3 separate regions of the Homo sapiens genome follow, and all the other regions are linked to region 1. The links are contacts of gene promoters, found by promoter capture Hi-C in blood cells and fetal thymus (Javierre and others, 2016). All regions are on one chromosome and are shown on one strand. Each heading gives the region's core, a stretch centred on a gene start or on the middle of the fragment in contact. The rest is flanking DNA. Distances are from core to core; before and after follow the strand shown.

The links. Contacts are between HindIII fragments. The CHiCAGO score rates a contact against its expected background, and 5 or more counts as called.
Region 2: the fragment with the promoter of UBAP2L here is called in contact with the fragment with the promoter of SHC1 in region 1 in 1 of 17 cell types (neutrophils); the score reaches 5.4 in neutrophils.
Region 3: a contact is called between the fragment with the promoter of AQP10 here and the fragment with the promoter of SHC1 in region 1, in 1 of 17 cell types (non-activated CD4 T cells). The highest score is 5.3, in non-activated CD4 T cells.

The regions. Positions count from the first base shown.
Region 1 is chr1:154,967,892-154,972,977 of GRCh38, forward strand. It overlaps SHC1 (SHC adaptor protein 1), which reads right to left and starts at 2,856. Exons shown (of 12, transcript NM_001130040.2): 1 at 2,141-2,856; 2 at 1,487-1,557; 3 at 880-943; 4 at 604-723; 5 at 313-366; 6 at 89-140. The coding sequence starts at 2,635. RefSeq lists enhancers at 1,633-2,183, 2,184-2,734. The HindIII fragment of the contact is 11,130 bases long and covers 1-5,086 here.
Region 2 is chr1:154,218,621-154,223,706 of GRCh38, forward strand. UBAP2L (ubiquitin associated protein 2 like) reads left to right here and starts at 2,335. Exons shown (of 27, transcript NM_014847.4): 1 at 2,335-2,355. It overlaps LTAP1 (lipid transport auxiliary protein 1), which reads right to left and starts at 1,970. Exons shown (of 7, transcript NM_001098616.3): 1 at 1,722-1,970; 2 at 1,216-1,317. The coding sequence starts at 1,787. RefSeq lists enhancers at 1,343-2,090, 1,669-2,108, 2,091-2,838 and silencers at 1,429-1,498, 2,359-2,508. The HindIII fragment of the contact is 10,463 bases long and covers 156-5,086 here.
Region 3 is chr1:154,318,831-154,323,916 of GRCh38, forward strand. It overlaps AQP10 (aquaporin 10), which reads left to right and starts at 2,263. Exons shown (of 6, transcript NM_080429.3): 1 at 2,263-2,430; 2 at 3,103-3,229; 3 at 4,152-4,289; 4 at 4,411-4,529; 5 at 4,759-4,976. The coding sequence starts at 2,326. RefSeq lists a silencer at 2,042-2,233. The HindIII fragment of the contact is 12,155 bases long and covers 1-5,086 here.

The DNA.
Region 1 (5,086 bases), core at 1,606-4,105:
ATCTACTTAGAGTGGGTACAGATGACCAAAGGTCCTACTCACCTCCTCAAACAGCCAGACCCACCCAGTGCTCCCCACCATGCCTCACCTCTCTGATTCACAGGGTCTTTGGCAACATAGGCGACATACTCGGCTGTGTCCTGGGGAGGAAGGTCAAAAAATTTTACAGTTCTACTTTACTCCTGACCCCTAAAACCCAGTCCTTTTCAGATATCCCCACAATCCTAGCACCCCCACTTCTCTAATCAATGTCTTCCCAATCCCTAGCCCCTTGCTCTTCTCCCACCGCCTTTGCTCTGTTCCCCAACTCACCGGATCCCCGCCGGATGCAAATGAGATAGATTGCATGTGGTGGTTGGCGATGATCTGAGAATTAGGGCAGGGGATGAAGAAGGAAGGGAATGCCATGTGTCAGGCAGCCTCAGGGCCCAGAACCCTGGTGCCCCAGTCTCATTCTCTGGGTTCCTTATCCCATATCCTCATTTCCTCCTTCCCTACTGGTCTCCTGCTCTCAAGCCCTCTTCCTAGATTTTGGCCTCCTAACTAGATCTCCCCTTAGCACCCCCATCAGTGTTTCTGGTCCGTCTGCCCACCTTCACCAACCTGTTTGCAGTCTGCGGCCATGAGGTTGAGGCTGCTGGTGGAGACGGTGAGAGTGATTGGCATTCCAGCAAATTTCAGGTTACTCCTCCCCAGGATAGAGCTGAGCGGGCGGCTACAGGGCTAAGGTAGGGCCCAGGGTCTCAGAAGGTGAGGGTTCCCAGCACAGGCAAACCACACTTTTGCCTCCTGGCCCTCTCCCCACATGCCCCACACTTGCCTCCCCACTGCCCCTCCACATTTCCCAGCAGCATCCCTATCCCCAAGGACCCCAAGTACCTTTCTCCTCCTTGTCGCCCCCTTAGCACCCGGCACAGCCTCACACACCAGACTGATGGCCTCCCTGGGGAAAGAGGGGTACTCAGACCCAGCGCCTGCCTGCCTGCCTCCCACTCAACTGGGGCTGCCACAGGGCTGGGGGAGGGGAAAGCCAGGCCAGACTCCCAGGGCACTCCAGGCTCTTTGTCATGGTGGATTGAATTAAGGGCCTTTAATATTTGATGACACTGAGAGGCCACTTCCTGGCTGATTGGGTTAGGGCCTCAATGGGTATAGCCCCACCCCCTTCCAGCTACCAAATGTCCCATTCCCTTCCCAAAGGCAGCAGCAACCTTCCATCTACCCCCCTTTTCTACTCCAGCTCCACCTGCCAGCTGCTTCTGCCACCTTCCCCACAACTCCCAAGGCTGGATAGGTAAGGAGGATCCGGGCCAAAGGGGCCTCCTTTCAGTAAGAGGCGGAATCACTACCTCAGCTTTCTCTCAATCCCCTTTACTACGCAAAGATCAGCCCCCAGCAGCAGCACCCAAGTGACCCACTCCCCTCCTCTGTTTCCCATGGCCTCACTAATCCCAGGACTCCCACAATCCACTCCCTCCCCACTAACCTGGTGACCTGAGTCCGGGTGTTGAAGTCCAGGGCACGCATTGACTGGAGGACCTCCACACAACCCATGTACTAAGGGGAGGGAGAAGAGGACAGCAGGTCAGCGGCTCCCCCACCCCAGCCCCTTCACAAAGGGCCCTAGGACTTTACCCATATGGTCCCTAAGGGAAGTAAAGAGGAAGAAGTTCTGCCCACTTCCCGTGGCTACATCCCACAACCAAGGTGAAAGACAACAGGGAATGAGGAGAAAAAGAAAAGGCAGGCTAGAAGGACCTCACACACTGGGGAGAGAGTTTGGAGGGGACCGACAGGCATTGGCTGGGATGGAGTGACAACTCCAGAAAGCGGGAGGAGAATGGAGGAAAGATCAAGAAGTCATTCATTCCAACACTTATTAAGAGCTTCTGCCATGCTGGGCATTGTGCTAAGCATGCCAGGGTGGGGGTGGGGGAGTGAAAAGAAGGAAGGGGGCCCAGGCAAAGCTGGAAGGGAAGGGGCTACAGAATCGGGGAAGGGATGAGAAAGGTTTAGGAAATAGGACACTGAAACGGGGTTGTTGGGGAACAGCAGGAAAAAAGAGATTCCGGCCAAGCTGGAGTGAGCATTAGAACTGGAGGGGGTCTGCGGGGGAATGGAGAGGAGGATGTTCACTCACCCGAACCAAGTAGGAAACCCCGGGTCCCATGACTTTGTCGTTGGGATGCAGCCAGCCCCGCGTGGGCTTATTGACAAAGCTCCCGTGGCGGGTCCACTCCTCGCCCCCAAGCTGGCCCCCTTCCACCCGAGTCCTGCGCCCGCCGCCTCCACTCAGCTTGTTCATGTCCTGGAGGAGGGGTAGGGGGCCTGAGTCTGGCATGGCTGCCCCTACGATCCCCTCCCCATCATCAGCTGCCCTTCCTGGCTCCCCCTTAGACCCTGGGCGCCCCCCAGCCGGGTTGGCCAGCCTCAGGTTGCTCATCCGGGGGAAGAAGGAGCACAGGGTAGTGGGACTATCGTCCCCAGGCAGAGGAGGCAGGATGGGCCCCAGGGATGAAGCTGATGGGGAAGGCAGCTCCTCCGGGGGGGTGGACCCAGAAGCCCCTTCCTCCAGCGATGACAGAGACTCATTCCGGAGTGGATTGTACTTGGGCTTGGGGGGCAGGAGATCCATAGTTGAGGTGAAAGAGGGGCTGCTGCCCAGCCTGGCCCCCCTGCCAGTTTGGGCAAGGGGGCCAGGCAGGGGGTATCCCCAGGCCCTTAGCCTGGTTGGACCTCTGTGGCCCAGGAGTCACAGAAGTCCTGGGGAGGGAGAGGGACAAGTGGCTTCCGCTCCCCAGCTCAGACCCAGACAGTTTCAGGCCCCATCCCCGCCCAACGTGGAGCCTCTTCTCTGGCTGAGAAGAGAACAGGCTGGACCCAGCGCTTCTGGCTCCTCCCCAGGGGCGGGGAGCTAAGGGGAGAGACCAATCGTGAGGACAGTGCTGACTCACAGGCTCAGAGGGGCTGAGCCCCCACCCCGCCCCAACCTCGAACTGGAGCAGGGGGTAGGGCTATCCAAGCCCCTCTCCCCTGCCCTATACAAACAACTAGTAATCTGGGGAGAAGTAAAGTGGGGGTGGGAGGGAAGGATGGAAGAGTGGGACGGAAAGGAAGGAGATAGGAGGTCTGGGTCACTCAAAACCGGACACACGCAGGCCAAAGGGGGCAGGAAGCCAGGCAGGAGTACAGGGGAATGAGGGAGGAAACAGAGGCAGCTGGGGGTGGAAAAGGGAGGAGATCTCAGAGCTCAGCATTTCCCTTCCTGTCCTGGTTGGACACTCGAATTCCCCCACCCTCTCTATGCCCGAAAGCTGGCTGGCCCCAGCCCAGGCCACCCCCAACCGCTACCCCATACAGTAAGCCTGGGCCATTAGCATCCTCTGCTACAGCAGCTGTGGACTGGAGCTAGCGAAGTGGGGATGGGAAGTAAGTGGTCCCAATGGATGCAGAGCAGGGCCAAGAGGAAGAGCAAAGCTGGTGAAAAAAGGGGAATAAAGTTCAACCTGGATGATACATCAGGAAGCTACCAGGCAAGAAGGGAACAAGAGGACATGCTGGTCACGGCTTGTTCTCTACGTATGCCATCTACCACACCAAGACCGATGGCTCATAGCCAAGCACTGTCCTGTCTCCCCTTTCCACAGGGCTTGTTAACACAGCACACTGTCAAGGGTGAGAATGAGGCAATCAGGTCCCCACTCCCACTCCAAACCACCCCAATTCACATCCCTCCTCTTACAGGGCCCTAAGCCCCACCAAAGAGCACAGCATCCTTCACACCAGGGAAGGAGCCTGGCTGGAGGAGGTGGAAGAAACAGTTCTCCAAGAGAAGTAGAAACTACAGGCCAGGAAGGGACAGAGAGATCAGAAGACACATCTGCGTCAATAAGGACAGGAGAAAAATAAGTACAGGAGAAAGGGGTGTCAGGAGAAGATGGGTTGAAGCTGGACACAGGGAACAGTCCCAAACCCATTCCTGCCACCCACGGCTTCCTGCCACTGCTCTTCCGGAGAATGCCACAGGCAAAGCTGGAAAGTGACCAAAAAAAAAAAAACAAAGATACGTATTCCTACCGGGCGCGGTGGCTCACACCTGTGATACCAGCACTTTGGGAGGCTGAGGCGGGTGGATCACCTGAAGTCAGGAGTTCGAGACCAGCCTGGTCAACATGGTGAAACCCTGTCTCTACTAAAAATACAAAAATTAGCTGGGCGTGGTGGCGGGCACCTGTAATCCCAGCTCAGGAGGCTGAGGCAGGAGAATCGCTCGAACCCAGGAGGCGGAGGTTGCAGTGAGCCGAGATCGAGCCATTGCACTCCAGCCTAGGTGACAAGAGCAAAACTCCGTCTCAAAAAAAAAAAAATACGTATTCCCCCCAGCTCACCTTGGAATTACCCTTAGATTTACTTCAGAGAATTAAAATATAGATAGATAATTATCCTGATTAACAACATTAACACTTGAAGTGTGTTAGATGCTGTGCTTAACTCTTACATCTCCCCTTAGTGCTCATTCCAGAAGAGCTTTGTCACTCTGCCAGCCAATCCTGAGAAGGAATTTTATCACTTCATTTCCAGCCAGCTCTCGGGCATAGAGAGAATGAGGAAAGGATTCCACCATAGCCTCACACCCCCAAAACACACAAACACACACTAGGATGTCCCTCATCTGTAGAGATGATGTTCTGTGGGAGCCTACAGTATCCAGAGCCAGGGAAGGACCAACGGGTGTGGGCGTTCGGAAGAAAAGAAAGACGTATGACTCTTGAAATTTACATAGGGAGAAAGGAGATTGCCTACTGGAAGTCCAGGTGATTGGGTGTAGGGGAAAAGCTGTGTGTGGCTTCGCAGCCCAACTGGGAGGAGGGGACAGGGGCGGGAAGTGGCAGGAAATGGCGAAAGCCTCAGGAATGTTTCCAGCAGGGAAGGCTGGGCAAACGGGGCCAGGAGGAATGCCCAGACAAGAACTCTGGTTAGGGGGAGGGGAAGAGACAGAGAAGTAGCGACTGAACTGTCCCTTAAAAAAAAAAAAATCAAACAACAAAAAGAGCACTATTATCTACCCCCACTCCAAACTACCGTT
Region 2 (5,086 bases), core at 1,085-3,584, 750 kb before region 1:
GTTTTTCATTCAGCAACAAATTACAGAGTACCTGCTATGTGTAGGCCCTGGCACTAACCTGTTTTTCATTCAACAAGAAATTACTGAGTACCTACTATGTGTAGGTCCTGGCTTTATAGTCGTGAACAAAACTGGCATGGTGCCTGCATTCTTGAAGCTTACGGTCTAGCGGAAGAGAGAGGCATGTTTTAAACAAATGGACAAACATAAAAATTATGGTAAATGCTATGAAGGAAAAATCAGGGTACCATGTGAAAATAAAGAGAGGGGGAACCTACTTTAAAATAGGTAATAAGCATTCCTTTTTTGGAAGTAACATTTAAGCTAAGATCAAAAGAATGAATGAGCTAGCCAATTGAAGACCATTCCAGATCACAGGAGCAAAAAGGGTGGAAAATTCAGCCAGTGGAGCTGGGTCCCAGTGATCTGGGGAGAGCCACACAAAAGGGGGTTGGTAAGGGAAGCAGGTGTCTTTTACTTAGAAGCGAAAGACTAAAGAAGCAGAATGAGAGTGGCAGTGGGATAGCAATAATTCTGATTCACAAATGTTGGGTTTGAGATGTCTACTACAAATCTAAGTGGAAATGTCAGGTAATCAGTTGGCAATATATGTAAGGAACTCAGGAAAGAGTTCTAGGATAGAGATAAAATTTCATCTGTAGCTAAAGCCAAGGAAAGGAAGACAGTCACCTAAGGAGAAAGTACAGACAAAGATAAAAGACCACTGGGTTATTCACTTCCTATACGTCTTCTGGTAAACTGCCTCCTTTTCTTGGGCTTCTTGGTAACATGAATGGTGGAATTAGATGATTTATGGAGCTCCTCTTAAGTCTAAAATTATGTAAAGGTAACCCTTCTCATTGCTCTTGGGTTAACCTTAATGATCTCAACCCCATCCTAATCAAACAAAAAACACTGGGTAGTTTAAGATGAGCTGGGAAATATTTTACTACAAACAGTTGGGAACTTCGACCCAAGCCCTTCATTCTGCAGATACAAAAACAGAAGTTCCAGGATGAGCCACATGCTTGCCACAGCACTGAGCAGGTAAGCCAAGTTCCAAAGCGCACAGTGCCTGCTCAACTTAGTAAGTACAAGGACAAGTGCACGCAAAGAAACATGAGAATTAAAGTCATCACTAAAGGCAGAGGAAATCTCATTCTTGACCCTAAAAGATCTGGAGAAGTATGTTTAACTTGTGCCCTAAGGACCTACCTTGGGGGCATTGTGTCCCACAGGGACATGAGGTCCCCTTCGAGATTTCATTGCAAAGCGCATGATTTGCCTCTTCACAAAAATAAATAGCAGTACAAACACCTGTCCAAAAAGATGTAAAAATCCTTTAATAAAAAGTCAGTTTTGTTTTGTTTTTTTTTTAAAAAAGCATGCCTTCATTCCAAATCCCCAGATTCCGGCTCTCAGGAATGTTTCAGGGTAAAACTTGGGGCAAAGCAAGGCCGTTATGATGGGGGTGGATCTAAGAAGCCAGCAGCAGGGAGGCGTGGGGTCTGTGCTCTAGCGTTAAAGGGAGGGTTCTAGACTAACGAGGGCGGGTCGGCCCGACTAAGTGACTTAAACTCCCACCTACTCCTGGAATAAGGAGTCAAAGCCCGGATAGGCGCAGGTGAGTGGGTGGAGAATGCAGACGGGGTACAGCTCAAAAGGAGGGTCTCTACTGGGTAAGATGCGACAGCAGGAATGGGGTGGGGTAATCTCCTCACCAGGCTCCCGTAGGCCATCACCAGCACGACATTCACCCCGGAGAGCCAGTTACTGCCGGACGCCATGGCCTCCCTACCTCGCGCAGAATTGTTCGGGTTTACCCCGCTGTCCTGGCTGGTCAGCCCAGGCTCCGCCGAAGCGACGGCGCCTGGGTCCCCTGGAGCTCCCCGGCCATTTCCTTACGGGGGAAGACCAAGCCAGACCCGGCCTGAAAACATGGCGGACAGGCAGGAGAGCTGGGAAAGGAGAACGACGCCTTCCAGCTTCCCCCTGACACGTGACTCAGGCAGGCAATGGCACCCAGGAGCGTCGAGCGCTCAGACGCGGAACTACGACAGTAAGAGGAAGCGGCGGCCATCCGTGCGTCACGTGGTGGAGGCAGGGCCGCCGTGAAGGAGGCGGGGTGGACTCGCGGAGCCGGAAAGAGGTGTCTCGTGGCGAGGCGGCACGCGCACGCTTGCGTGCGCGCCCCTTTTAGCGTCACGCGCTGAGGGACGCAGGAAGGCAAGTGGGCGGGGGAAGGCGCGAGAGCGAGCGCGAGAGGGAAAAGGAGGGAGGGGGTGGGGAAGAGGGAATCTTATATCACGTGACAGGGGCGGCGCGGCCCGGGGTGTCAGTGTGGAGGAGACTGAGGTAAAGTTGGGAGCGCAGCGGCGTTGGCGGCGGCGGCGGCGGCAGCGGCAGCGCGGCGGGGCCGGGTATTGTCCGCGGCCCCTTTAAATCCGCGATCCCCCTTTTACCCTCCCTCTTTTCTCCCCTGCCCCCGCCGTATCCCCTCCCTCGGTAGGCCCCCCCACACCGTGTGTTCCCCCACTGTACACCCCCCCCCGAGTCATGCGAGCCCTGGCGCCCCCCACCTCGAGTCGGCCCCCGGAGGTTTTGTTTATGGTTGGGTTCGCGGCCTAGTGGGCCGCGCCAGAGCCGGGGCCTCGATTTGGGAGCGTGGCCGGGGCGGGGCTTGGAGCAGCCGTAGGAAGGGGGGGCCATGCGGCTAGAGCCTGAGAGGGGAGAGCGAGAAAGAGCGCGAGCGAGCGAGGCCTGGGCCTTGCCTGAGGTAGGGCTCTCTCTTCACCCCGGCCGGTGCCTGCGGAGGAGAGGGCCTCCTCCCTTTCCACCCACTGCGGGCCTCCTCTGATCCGGATCCGGCCTGGTTTGGGGGTGGCGTGGGGGAGGGAGGGCGATGGGGTGGAGCTCCCCCAAACTCCCCCATGTGGCCCTCAGTTTGGTGTGCGAAGGATTAATTTGTTCCGGCTGGGAGGTAGGGAGGAGATTGGCCCCGTGGGCTCTCGATGTGGCGCTGAGGGGGGTGAGCCTCCCATCCTCCACCCGTGGGCTTGCGTCCCCTCTCCGTTTCCAGGCTCTTTGTCAGCTCCTCTTATTACCCTCCCTTCTTTCTCACCAACCCAGTTCTTGGAATATGTTTTTGCTGCTGTCTTTAGCTTCCTGTTTATACTGTAGTTTGGGTACCCCAAACAATTGTGTTATTTGGGAAGCTGGACATGGAGGCCCCCATAGGGTGTATTTACGCTTAAGGGACGTCACTAGAGCACTGGGGTATTTGTTCACTCTTCTCATAATGGTACAGGAATGCCCAGTTTCTTCAAACCCTTAACCTTGTGGACAGCCCTTAAATTGCTTTGCAAACTGATGTCACAAACTGGAGACTGCTCCTTTTCCACCATTCTTGAAATGTAGCCACCTCTGGTGTAGGATGTTGTGGAAAGAAAAACACCACAGTAACAGGCGTTTTTGTTATTATTGTTAACGTTTTTGCCTTTGACTCTCCCTGATTATTAAATGGAGAAATCCTTTTTTTTTGTCTTCTCTCCCATCCTACCTTCCTCCGCCGCATATCCTGTTTTGGGGATACCTGATGTGACTTGCTGGGAGGTGATGGACATTACTAGTAACCAGCGTTTCTAGAGAATTAAAACATTTTGGCTGTGTATCAGTTGATAAAACTGCTTTGAGATCTGTCTCCATTGTACTTAAAGATTAGACTATCCCAATGATTACAGAGAATTAAAACATTTTGGCTGTGTATCAGTTGATAAAACTGCTTTGAGATCTGACACCATTGTCCTTAAAGATTAGACTATCTCAATGATTGTTTCCTTTGTGAATGGGAAATATTGCTGGCACATAAACTAGTGATGAAAGGCCTAAAAATGTCCTGTTTTGTTTTTCATCTTTAAAGCTCCTCCTTGCTATGTCCTAACTGGGAAGTACTCTTACTAACTAGATATCAAGGTGGTGGGGAAGGGGATGCAGGGGCCATTTCAACAAAGCATCTACAGAAATTAGTTGTTCTGTTAGAGGTAGCAAATTTTACCCAACTCAGTCTAGCTTCAGTTTCTGAATTGTTTCTTAAATTAGATTGTAAGCTCCCTGAGGGCAGCTACTAAGTCATACTGCTTTTGTATTTTCCTGAAGTATTGGACACATAGTAGATTCTCAATAAATATTTGTTATTTAGTTTTTTCAGTGAAATTTCTCTGGCTATTTTTTTAAGTAGCTAGTTTTCAAAAAAGAGTCAAGGGCACTCCTGTGTTGAAACCTCTGTTTACTCTCGCACGATTTCCTTGGTCTCCAATACTTCTCACCCTACTTCCTTTAAATCTTTTTATTTTCTAAGAAAGAGCAAGTAAGTAACAAGATTCTTCATCTCCAGTGTGATAGCTGGGAATGGGTCTGCTTGCTACTAATTCTGTGCCCTCAAGTGATCCATTCCAGATCACTTACTTTTGACCTGTTGCTCAGTGTTGTCACTACTAGGTGGTAAAAATTTTCTTAGTCACATTTCGAAGCACTTGTAAGAGGGAAATGTTACTAGCAAGAGTGATTAGGAGAATTTTTTTCTTTCTTGGTTAATTATATCTTTCAAGATGACTTTTTAATATGTTTACATCTGACTGGTACAGTATATGCAATAGTGTATAGCTAGTCATGCAGTTTATACCTGCAATATAACTTATCCTCACAAATAGATATCACATGTGGAGTAGAAAACAGTCAATATTTGTAAGTTACAGTAGTGGGTTGGAAATGACTATGCCATATTAGAAACTTCATCTTAGAGCCAATTTTAAAACAAAATAGTTTTCCTCTCGTCTTTATATATATACGTATATATGTGTATATGTAGTCTTGTTGATTTGGATTCGGGGTACTTGGTTAAACATTTTTTTTTTTTGTAAAGTTGAAACGACTATAATGCTAACCTGGGAAAATGGGCTACTGTGTAGCAAATAATCCTTTCTAGCTTGAAATACTTATGGGCTTTTGTGTGCCAATATGTGTAGGGGGAAGAGGTAATGGGTTAAAAATTACCTGAGAAGCTACCTTAAAAAAATCTTTCTTGATA
Region 3 (5,086 bases), core at 1,013-3,512, 650 kb before region 1:
TCGCCCTGAATTCTTTTTTTCTTTTTTTTGAGGCGGAGTCTCGTTCTGTCACCCAGGCTGGAGTGCAGTGGTGCGATCTCGGCTCACTGCAACCTCCACCTCCCGGGTTCATGCCATTCTCCTGCCTCAGCCTCCCAAGTAGCTGGGACTACAGGCGCCCACCACCATGCCCGGCTAATTTTTTTGTATTTTTAATGGAGACGGGGTTTCACCATGTTAGCCAGGATGGTCTCAATCTCCTGACTTTGTGATCCCGCCTTGGCCTCCCAAAGTGCTAGGATTACAGGCATGAGCCGCCGCACTCAGCCTGAATTATTTCTAGTGTGAGATCCAAGAACCCTCTCTTGGGATCTGGATTCAGACCCCTTTCCTGTAACAAGATTAGGCACCAGGAGAAACTGACACACATGGATGATATAACAGATGCCTAAATGGATCCTATGGGGGAACTGGAGCTGGAACAGCCCTTTAGAGTTGTCGCAAAGTGAGGCAAAGAGGCTAGACTTTTATATCCCTCCATCAATCAGTGTTTGACATGGGCCCCATAGGAGGGCATGTAACCTTCGGTGAGGCATCTTTCTGACTTGAAGGGCATTGCCCAATGAGGGAGGTAGCTATGTGGTATCAGCAGCTGGTATTTCCTACATGTAGCGAATGGGCATATTGGCTCCCAAGGGGGAATCTGGGTGGAGCACTATAGTATCCATTAAACCTAGTAAAGAAATATTATTTCTTTACTAGTCACACAGATGTGCCCAGGACAGTGGTAGAGCCCACAGGGTTACATAAATCATAATGGTAGCCCTCAAGAACTTCATAAACTGTATATGGTATTTTAAAAAGTTGCATATTGTCTGTTTCCACCTACTAGAACATAAGCTCTAGGAGGGCAGAGACTATGTTTTGTTCACCACTGTTTCTCCAGTGTCTAGACGTAGATTCTTTGAATGCATTTAATTGGAGCCTTGAGATATGAAGAAGTAGGATGCGGTTACTTCATGCAGAGCAAGAGTGGCATGCACCCAGAGAAGGCCAGGTGGAGCTCAGCATGAGTGTGAAGGCCTCATGTCAAGCCATGTCAGGGGACACAAAGATGGAGTATTCTCTAACCTATGTGACACTCGGCATAAGGGAAGTACAAGCACTCAATATGTGAGTTTCATTCCCACAGTCTGTGGTCTTTAGCCCAGTCTTTCCAGATGCCTATTGAGTTCTTCAAGCATCCAAATGGTTTGGGGTAAGGCTTCAGGTTCTAAATGAGAGGCTTTGTGGGTTACCAGCTGGAGAGTCAGAAAATCTGGATTTGAATTCACTCAGCCATGAAATAATTGTGTGATCTTGGGCCGGGCACGGTGGCTCACGCTTGTAATCCCAGCACTTTGGGAGGCCAAGGAAGGTGAATCACTAGAGGTCAGGAGTTTGAGACCAGCCTGGCCAACATGGTGAAACCCCGTCTTTTTTTTTTTTTTTTTTTTTGAGACAAAGTCTCGCTCTGTTGCCAGGCTGGAGTGCAGTGGCACAATCTCGGCTCACTGCAACCTCCGCCTCCCTGGTTCAAGTGATTCCCCTGCCTCAGCCTCCCGAGTAGCTGGGACTACAGGCGTGCACCACCACGCTAATTTTTTTGTATTTTAGTAGAGATGGAGTTTCACCATGTTGGCCAGGATAGTCTTGATCTCCTGACCTCGTGATCTGCCTGCCTCGGCCTCCCGAGAAACCAAGTCTTTACTAAAAAATATCAAAATTAGCCAGGTGTGATGGACCTGTAGTCCCATCTACTTGGGAGGCTGAGGCAGGAGAATTGCTTGAACCTGGGAGGTGGAGGTTGCAGTAAGCTGAGATGGTGCCACTGCACTCCAGCCTGGGGGACAGAGCAAGACTCTCTCTCAGAAAAAAAAAAAAAAAAAGTTTGATCTTGGGGAGTTCTAAGGCCCACTAGCCTCATCTGTAGAATGGAAGCAATAGTACTACTTTGCAGAGCTGACTTCAGGACCAAGAGATCTAATGTCTATGAAGCGGGGTACTTCCTTCTATTTGTCAGGATGGGGGAGGCTAGTCCTGTGATGACTGGGAATGAAGGGTAAAAGAGACAGAGGTTGGGTAAACTCCAGGCTCTGTGTTCATAGCCTGCTCCCAGACATTCTCTTGTTATCTCTCTGTTTCCTAGCCTACACACGTGCACAGACACGTAGCTGCTGTTCAGGAACTGAGCTAATGGTTTTAAAGTCTGTTCCTTATCTTTGCTGGAGGCAGGCAGTAGCTGTGCAGTGACAGTGTGCCTATGCAGACAGAGGGAGCAGTGAATAGCAATAGGGTGTTTCCACCATGGTCTTCACTCAGGCCCCGGCTGAAATCATGGGCCACCTCCGGATACGCAGCCTCCTGGCCCGGCAGTGCCTGGCAGAGTTTCTGGGTGTGTTTGTACTCATGGTAGGTAGGATCACTGCGGGAAGGAAAGAAGGGGGTTGGGCAAAAGTTCCTGGCTCCTTCTGTTGTCCTTATCTCTTTCTCTTGGTGTCCCCCTTCCTCTCAACTCCCTATCACTTTTCGTTTTTATCCTCTCGTCTCTCCTAATCTCCTTTCCTCTCCTACTTCATCATTTTTATTCTTGTCATTTTTATTCTTTCTTTAATAACAAGTGTATCATAGTTCTTGAAACATAATTTTTCTCTCTTCAGTTTCCCATTTTTATGAAAGACCATTTTCATGGTAAGACCAATGTGCTTTATTATACTTGGCCTGATGATTGTATAAAGTGCAGCAAGAATAATTATTTTTCACATAGGCTTTTAAAATTGGCTTTGATGGAACTCTTCCATAGAAAGAATCTTAGATAAGACTTTTTAAAGCTGAGCCCTGCCATGGGTTTGTACCCTCAAATGCCTATGAGTTGGGTAAATTCTTTTCTTTTTTCCCACATTCTTTCCCTTTCTTCTTCCTCCACTTTCCCCATTTCTTTTCCCTTCCCTCCTTCTGCTTTTCTCCTTCCCTTGCTTGTCTTCTGTGCTCATTCATCTCCTTGGCTGCTCCCCTGGCCTTCCCAACCTTTCTCCCTGTTGGTCTCCTGGGCTCCCTGTTCCTCATCTCTCCTCTTCTCAGCAGCTCCTCACCCAAGGAGCTGTGGCCCAGGCTGTCACCAGTGGAGAAACCAAAGGCAACTTCTTCACCATGTTTCTGGCTGGCTCTCTGGCCGTTACGATAGCCATCTACGTGGGTGGTAACGTCTCAGGTGAGGAGGGTGGGGTCTGGTCATCAGAGCACGTGGGATGTGCATGCCAGTTTGTCTGTCTGGTGATGGTGGAAACGCAAATCCTTCTGTGACTCGTGGACATTATCCCCTTGAACAGTGTCCCAGACTGAAATAAGCCTTTGGCCCCACCAGCCCCTCCTCTTTCTGTATCTCTCCATCCTGCTTCCTCACACTAATGCTTGGCTCACCTAGACAGAAATCAATGGCAGGGCACGAAGGGCAGCTGCTATCCTCTTGTATCCCCCACCTGAAGTCCTCTGGGGGCTCATCTCCACTCAGGACCTCTCCTGTTTGTACCCCAGATACACACTGCATCGGTGTGCTTGGGTGGAGCCTTGAGACATAGTGTGTTGCTGTGGAAAAAGCAGACAGACCTAGGTTCCAACTTTGGATTCACAGTGTCTTCTTCTTTTTTTTTTTTTTTTTTCTTTTTTTTTGAGATGGAGTTTCACTCTGTTGCCCAGGCTGGAGAGCAGTGGTGTGATGTCTGTTCACTGCAACCTCTGCCCCTGGGTTCACGCGATTCTCCTGCCTCAGCATCCCGAATAGCTGATTTTACAGGCACCTGCTACCACGCCTGGCTAATATTTGTGTTTTTAGTGGAAACGGGGTTTCACCATGTTGGCCAGGCTGGTCTGGAATTCCTGACCTCAAGTGATCCACTGCCTCGGCCTCCCAAAGTGCTGGGATTACAGGCGTGAGCCACTGTGCCTGGCCCACAGTGTGACTTTGCTAAGTCACTTAACATCTGTAACATCTGGAGCCTCAATTTCCTAAGCTGTGTGATGAGAATTACACTATCTGCCTTAAGAGCTATAGGAAGGAGCAGTAGTGTTGTCTGGTGACAATGCCTGGCAGTGACACTTAATAGATGCTCTTTTTCTTTCCTTGATACTTGAAGGGGCCCACCTGAATCCAGCCTTCTCCCTGGCCATGTGCATCGTTGGACGCCTCCCCTGGGTCAAGCTCCCCATTTACATCTTGGTGCAGTTGCTGTCTGCTTTCTGTGCTTCGGGAGCCACCTATGTTCTCTACCATGGTGACAGAGGGAACAGAGGGAGCTGTGCCTTGAGAGCACCTGTGGGTGGGCAGGGGTGCCTCAGAATGGTTTTGGATGAATGAGCAAAGAGGGAAATCCTGGGTGTTCCCTTCCTCCACAGATGCCCTACAGAACTATACAGGTGGGAACCTGACAGTGACTGGCCCCAAGGAGACAGCCTCCATTTTTGCCACCTATCCTGCCCCCTATCTGTCCCTGAACAATGGCTTCCTGGATCAGGTAAGTGTGAGGGGGAGACCTGGGGACACTACTTTGGTCCTGTTCCTCGGCACCCCAGCCTATTGTTCAGTCTCTGGGTGGAGTGTGGGTTGGGTCTATCTTGGCACTCCCCACCATCCCCAACTGCCTGTGTTGCACAAAGCCAGATGACATGGAATATTTGGATGAGAGAGGGCAGATGGAGCACCTGGCAGCTGACAGGGAACCCTCTGCCTCTGTTGACTCCAAGGTTCTGGGCACTGGGATGCTGATTGTGGGGCTCTTGGCCATCCTGGACAGACGGAACAAGGGAGTCCCTGCGGGTCTGGAGCCTGTGGTGGTGGGGATGCTGATCCTGGCCCTCGGGTTATCCATGGGTGCCAACTGCGGGATTCCACTCAACCCTGCCCGGGACCTGGGCCCACGTCTCTTCACCTACGTGGCTGGCTGGGGTCCTGAAGTCTTCAGGTGGGAGACAGACTCTCCTGGTGCTGGCCTCCACTCACCTTCCTCTGCTAAGGGCTCTGTCCCTGGGTCCACAGCACTCTGCCTTTAAAATAGCTCTCTTGGCTTCTTAG